Regions from separate parts of the Homo sapiens genome. Here region 2 is linked to region 1. Evidence: promoter capture Hi-C in human tissues and cell types (Jung and others, 2019). All regions are on one chromosome and are shown on one strand. Each heading gives the region's core, a stretch centred on a gene start or on the middle of the fragment in contact. The rest is flanking DNA. Distances are from core to core; before and after follow the strand shown. Region 1 holds the start of TM4SF4 (transmembrane 4 L six family member 4). Region 2 has its middle 43 kb from the start of TM4SF4.

Region 1 (2,908 bases), core at 197-2,696:
AAAATCTTAGCTCTTCTTCTTATGCTGAGATGAGCTTGCAAAAATCACTTTGAGCAGAAGCATCCCCACTTGTGAAGGGGGCATGACACCTTCTTCACAGAAGGGTGAAGAACATTTAAGGTGCTCATTCGTGCTTGGAGTATTATGCATGGCTCAATAAACATTTGCTGTTTTTCTGCTTTCTTTCTCATCCTGACCCTGAGATTTCTAAGTATCTTTATAAAGCAACCAGTACTCATTTCTTAGAAATTTTAGAAGGAGCCTCAACATTTTTCCAGTCTGACTTTTCTGGAATCCTTCCCACAGCTTCCCTTTCCAAGGGCCTCTGAGCCTTGGCAAAGCCCAGTCCATGGCTTCCTTGTGAGCAGGTGGCCTATTCCACGGTAGGACAGGTCTTACCATGGTAATAATGTCACTTGCTTTTTATTTAGCTAAAATTTGACTCCCTAAAATATTCGACCTATTTTAACCTCTAGATTCTCAATGAAGAACTAGTAAGACTTCCAGTTCCACCTCTTAATCCTTCAGCTGTTATGTAATACCAGTACCAGGCAGGGCCATCGCATAATGTAGAGCTTGGTCCAGGCGTGGCAGAGAACTTCTTAAGTGACACAAAGCAAATGAATGAATCATGCCCCTGGCAGTTGGCAAACTTTCTAATAGGGGTGTGTTTTACTGCCTCCTGCACTCTATAACTGCTCTTCCAACTGTGTCTTCTCCCCAGTCAACTCATCAGGACCTTTTCTCTCCCTCTCTACCAATGCTGACCTTCCTTTCCCCTTAGCCTTAGTGGATGATGGTTTCTTTATTCCTATATGGAAGACATAGCTGAGAAAGTTGATTAGGAAAACTGTTTTTGCTAATTCCATCACATCGTGTAGGGAAAAGATAGAACTTAATTACTTAATTGCGTAACAAGTAGAGAAACACAGCAATCAGACAATAAAATGAACAGTAGCTTTTTGCCTTAAACAATTCTTTTAAGTCTGAGCTCAATGATACACAACTAGACCATCAAATTATTTTGATATTGAGGAAAACAGAAGCTCTTTTGGATAACCCTGAATTCCAGGCTTTCAGTGGAAAAGACAAAGACACGCACTGTACACCATTAAGTACTTGGGAGACATGATTTTAACCAGGATGTAACTCAATTATATTAGTGATTTATAAAGAGTCTGGAGAAAATATTTCTTTATTTGGGCATGGGCACTGTCAGATTAAAGGTGCAGTGGTTCTAAATGCTGTTTGTTCCAGCCCTGTCTTCGATTGCAACAATGTGAGTGTCTTGTCTGTGCTGGTGGATTATTAACAGAGGTTATTGGTCTCCATGGCAAAACGATTGAATGATTGCTCTGAACGTAATCTCATTTATGGGGGTGCAAAAAACAAAGCACTTCAGGTCAGGGAGAATGTATAAATGTCCATTGCCATCGAGGTTCTGCTATTTTTGAGAAGCTGAAGCAACTCCAAGGACACAGTTCACAGAAATTTGGTTCTCAGCCCCAAAATACTGATTGAATTGGAGACAATTACAAGGACTCTCTGGCCAAAAACCCTTGAAGAGGCCCCGTGAAGGAGGCAGTGAGGAGCTTTTGATTGCTGACCTGTGTCGTACCACCCCAGAATGTGCACTGGGGGCTGTGCCAGATGCCTGGGGGGGACCCTCATTCCCCTTGCTTTTTTTGGCTTCCTGGCTAACATCCTGTTATTTTTTCCTGGAGGAAAAGTGATAGATGACAACGACCACCTTTCCCAAGAGATCTGGTTTTTCGGAGGAATATTAGGAAGCGGTGTCTTGGTGAGTAGGGAAGCTTAAAATCCCCCTAAGGGAGATTTTCCCTTCCCCACAATCCTTTTTAAATCAGGTACTTATTGAACAGGGAGATATTTAGTTGGTAATAGAAGCTCAAGCATTGCATGGTGAGAGGTCAATGCCTTAATTTTTTTCTCGTTTCTGTTAGGATCTGACAAGGACACGTCAGCTAAATTTACTAAGTAATTAATCTCTAAGCTTGGGCTGACAGTTCTCATGGGTCATTTGAGTCCCATGAACCGAAGTGAAGGTCGCATAGTTTCTTGATTCCAACAAGATAGTGCCCAAAACAATAACAACAACAAACCCACGATGCAAACCCACTAGAAAAGCAAATTGACTTAAAACCACCATGAGAAGCTGTTGTCAGTGTGGTCGTCTTCCACTTAGGACCTAATGATTTCTTTACCTCTGGTTTCCAATAGAATTGGGAACCTCCGTTTGAGAGAGTGAAAGGGAGAGAGACTCACTCTTCATGACAATTGAGGAAAAGTTTGTTATTCTTTTTTCTAACACACCATCTAAATGGAAACTCAGATTTTGAAATCTTGCCTCATTGAAGCTGGTTAGTCAGCCCAAATGGAATCTAAGTACTCCATAACACTCCATTACCCCTCCAGCCATGCTCTGTTACTTTGCCATTCCCTTTGGGCCTCCAAATCCCTCATTGTGGATGGGGCTCCTTATACAGTCAGGCAGGCTCGGGCCCTCCCTTCAACTCCTGGACTCTCTCTGAGGTGCCTCTTCTCCTGGTAGATGATCTTCCCTGCGCTGGTGTTCTTGGGCCTGAAGAACAATGACTGCTGTGGGTGCTGCGGCAACGAGGGCTGTGGGAAGCGATTTGCGGTGAGTTACCATGGGGGGCAGCTACTAGAATTACTCCAGGGTGCTCTGTGCTTTTGTGCTGGGCAGCATGGGGATGGAGACAAGTTATCAGCTCCAGCCAGGACTCTGGGAGCAGCTGGTGAAGGGATAAAACTGTGATTTTTCCTGCCAGTGTGAAATAATAATAATTTTCCAAAATACCATAGCCCTCATACTTATAGGGTATGAATATTGTATTAGATTTTACAAACCGACAGGGATGTCAGA
Region 2 (3,146 bases), core at 455-2,954, 43 kb before region 1:
GTTTTGGACACACGTTGTTAAACTGCTTTTTGGAAATTCTGAACAAATTTATATTCTCACCCACCACATTGGAGGCTGAGGCTCATCAAATCTCCATCAAACTTGAATATTATTTTTCTTACCTTCACCAGTTTCATAAATAAAAAGTGGTATCTTATCAAAGTTTGAATTTGCATTTCTCTAATTACCAGTGTGGTTGAACATTTTTCCATAAGCTTATGAATTATTTATATTTCCTCTTTTGTGCACTATCCGTTCCTGGCCTTTACATGGCTACCAAGGGACCATCTGGCTTCTGTTTAAACATATCTGGTGACAAAAACACTACCATTTCCATTTCAAGGGCAGTAGTCCTGAAAAAGGGGCTATAATTGTTAGAAAATGCCTTATATTGAACTGAAGTCTTTTTATTAAGTTTAGTAACTTCTTAGTTCTATCAAGTGGAGCTTCCCAAAATGCCTTTCTCAGCAGATGACATCTTCTAAATGTTTGATGACAATTAGTATAGTCCCCCAAATTCTCCAACCTAACATTCTAGTTCCTTTAACTATTCATTTACTGTAATTTCTAAACTCCTCGTTATTGTGGTCATTCTCTCCTAGAAACACTCAAGAGAATTGTGTTGAGAAACACTTAATGCGAAAATGTTTCTTTCTTTCTTTCTTTTTTTTTTTTTTTTTTGATACAGGGTCTCACTGTCACCCCGGCTGGAATACAGTGGTGTATTCATGGCTCATTGCAGCCTCGACTTTCCAGGCTCAGGTGATCCACCTCAGCCTCCTGAGTAGCTGGGACTACAGATGCGCACCACCACCACAACCAGCTAATTTTTGTATTTTTAGTAGAGATGGGGCTCACCATGTTGCCCAGACTGGTCTCAAACTCCTGGGCTCAAGTGATCCACCTGCCTCAGTCACCTAAAGTGCTAGGATTACAGGCATGAGCCACTGCACCTGGCCTAATGTTCCTAATAAAATGTCTTTCTCTGGCTCTGTATTTTTCTTTCTACAAAATGGCTTGTAATGCAAAAGAGATAATTCTCTAATTCTTACCCTCTATTCTGTAAAACTGAGTACACTTCTGTATCTTTTAAGGTCTCAAGATGTAAGTCAAACTTTAACATAGAATTAAGCTTTTAGAATTAGAAAGAAACCATTGTAAATGATTTTATTTAATAAATACTACTGGGATATTTTTATCAAACTGAAATAGTATATTCAACCTGAGAAAGGTGATTTTTAAAAATTTTAAAAATAAACTAGTGCCAATTGCAGTTATTCGAGTGCTATACAAACCCAAGACACCATTTTACACTGACAGCAGGTTTCTGCGTTACAGTACCGCTTCCAGTATACATTTTCTTAACCTTTAAGGATTCTGCAATAATTAGATTATGAAATATTTCTGCCTTATGTAGTGCCAAATTATTTTTTTTAAATCATAGAATATCAGCTAAGGAAAGCACTTTACAGACCCTTCCAGTCCACTCTCCTACCCCAGTTTTCCAGAGAAACAAGCTGAAGTTCAGGGAGGCTAAGAGCTGTTACTAAGGACACACACACAGAGTCAGGGCAGATTTTTGAAGCAGAAGTCCATTGGTCAATCTTTACTGTAGATGTTCTTCAGCTTCTGAAAGAGATTGGTCACCGTGATACAGGGACACAGGACCCCTTTGGATTCTCAAAAGGTTTTCCTAGTTAAAGATATAACAGGTGATAGAATCTGCCAAAATAACTATAGTGAGACAACAGGGAGGGGCTCATAGAAAACACCACTTTTAGATATTAATCATGAGGAATCTAGACAGGATTTTACTGTAGATTGTCTTTTCCAAAGAAAGCCACAACAATAAATCTTTAAGAAGTTTTTATCACCGTTAAATCTACAGATCTACAAGAAATAATAAGCTGTTGGTTTAAGCTATGAAAATCTGAGTGGTTTATTACATAGAAATAGGTCACTGGAACAGGTTAAGTCACCCCCAATTCTTATTTGTCTTTTTTTATAAACTGTTTCTAAATGAATAGGAATCATTAACAGAATGCTAGTGAACCGTGTGTAAATATATTTGGTTCCCTAATGCTAATGTTTAAAACCATTGACCCTCTTTCCCAACCCTATATATTTAGTTTATATGTTGTATTTCAATCCTTGTCAGAACCCTTTAAGAAAGATACTGGCATTCTCACTTCACAGATGAAGTACTCTAGACCGAAAGATAAGAAACACTCCTAGCAGGTAATGGGGCCAGATTCAGACCCACAGCTCACTAACTTTAAATCTGCAGTTCCTTCTACTTTCAAAATTGGCAAAAAGGCAAGACCTTCATTTGTTCTAAGAGAAGCCCTGGCTATAGTTGAACATTAGGAATTAGAAGCAACATTAGGGCCCATCAAGTCTATCTCTACTGATAAATGGCAAAAACCATACAGTTGACCCTTGAACAACGTGAGAGTTAGAGGCGCCAACCCCTGTGCAGTCAAAACTTCATGTATCACTTTTGACTTCCCCAAAACTTAACTACCAATAGTTCTGCTGTTTAGCAGAAGGCTTCCCGGTAAAATAAACACTCAATATTTTGTGTGTTATATGTTTTATATGCTATATTCTTACACTAAGGTAAGCTAGAGAAAAGTTATTAAGAAAATCATAAGAAAGAGAAAATATATTTACTATTCATTAATTGAAAGTGGGTCATCATAAAGGTCTTCAACCTCCTCATCTCCATGCCTAGTAGGCTGAGGAGGAAGAAACAAAGGAGGGCTTGATCTGGCTGTCTCAGGGGTGGCAGAGGCAGAAGAAAATCCACACATAAGTGGACCCACAAAGTTCAAACCCGTGTTTGTTTGTTTGTTTCCAGTTCCTATGGTTGTATTTAAACACAAATAAAACGTAGACATGAGCTGTTTGTTCATTTTCCCCGCCGCACAGCCTGGCATTAGGACTGGTGACTCTGAGGGCCAGCTGGGCTGCTCTTTCCACCATAGCTGTGCTGTTCTTGGAGGAAACACCGAGTGATCTCAGCACGGTAAGATTTCTTGCACGGCAACAGCACTTCCAGTTCCTTGACACTGTGGATCAGGAACTTTCAGAAGCCGCTGAGCAGCATGTGCTTTTTTGTTATTGTTGTTGTTACTCCCATAACC

The links. The method cuts DNA at HindIII sites, captures the fragments that hold promoters and counts their contacts. A contact is called where the count stands out against the background at its distance.
Region 2: a fragment that was not itself captured here is called in contact with the fragment with the promoter of TM4SF4 in region 1 in 1 of the 25 tissues and cell types used here (mesenchymal stem cells).

Annotation. Positions count from the first base shown.
Region 1 is chr3:149,473,251-149,476,158 of GRCh38, forward strand. TM4SF4 (transmembrane 4 L six family member 4) reads left to right here and starts at 1,447. Exons shown (of 5, transcript NM_004617.4): 1 at 1,447-1,801; 2 at 2,573-2,662. The coding sequence starts at 1,628. The HindIII fragment of the contact is 12,667 bases long and covers 1-2,908 here.
Region 2 is chr3:149,430,133-149,433,278 of GRCh38, forward strand. It overlaps the pseudogene RPL32P8. Among named protein-coding and RNA genes, the nearest start is that of TM4SF4, 43 kb to the right of the region's middle. The HindIII fragment of the contact is 3,608 bases long and covers 1-3,146 here.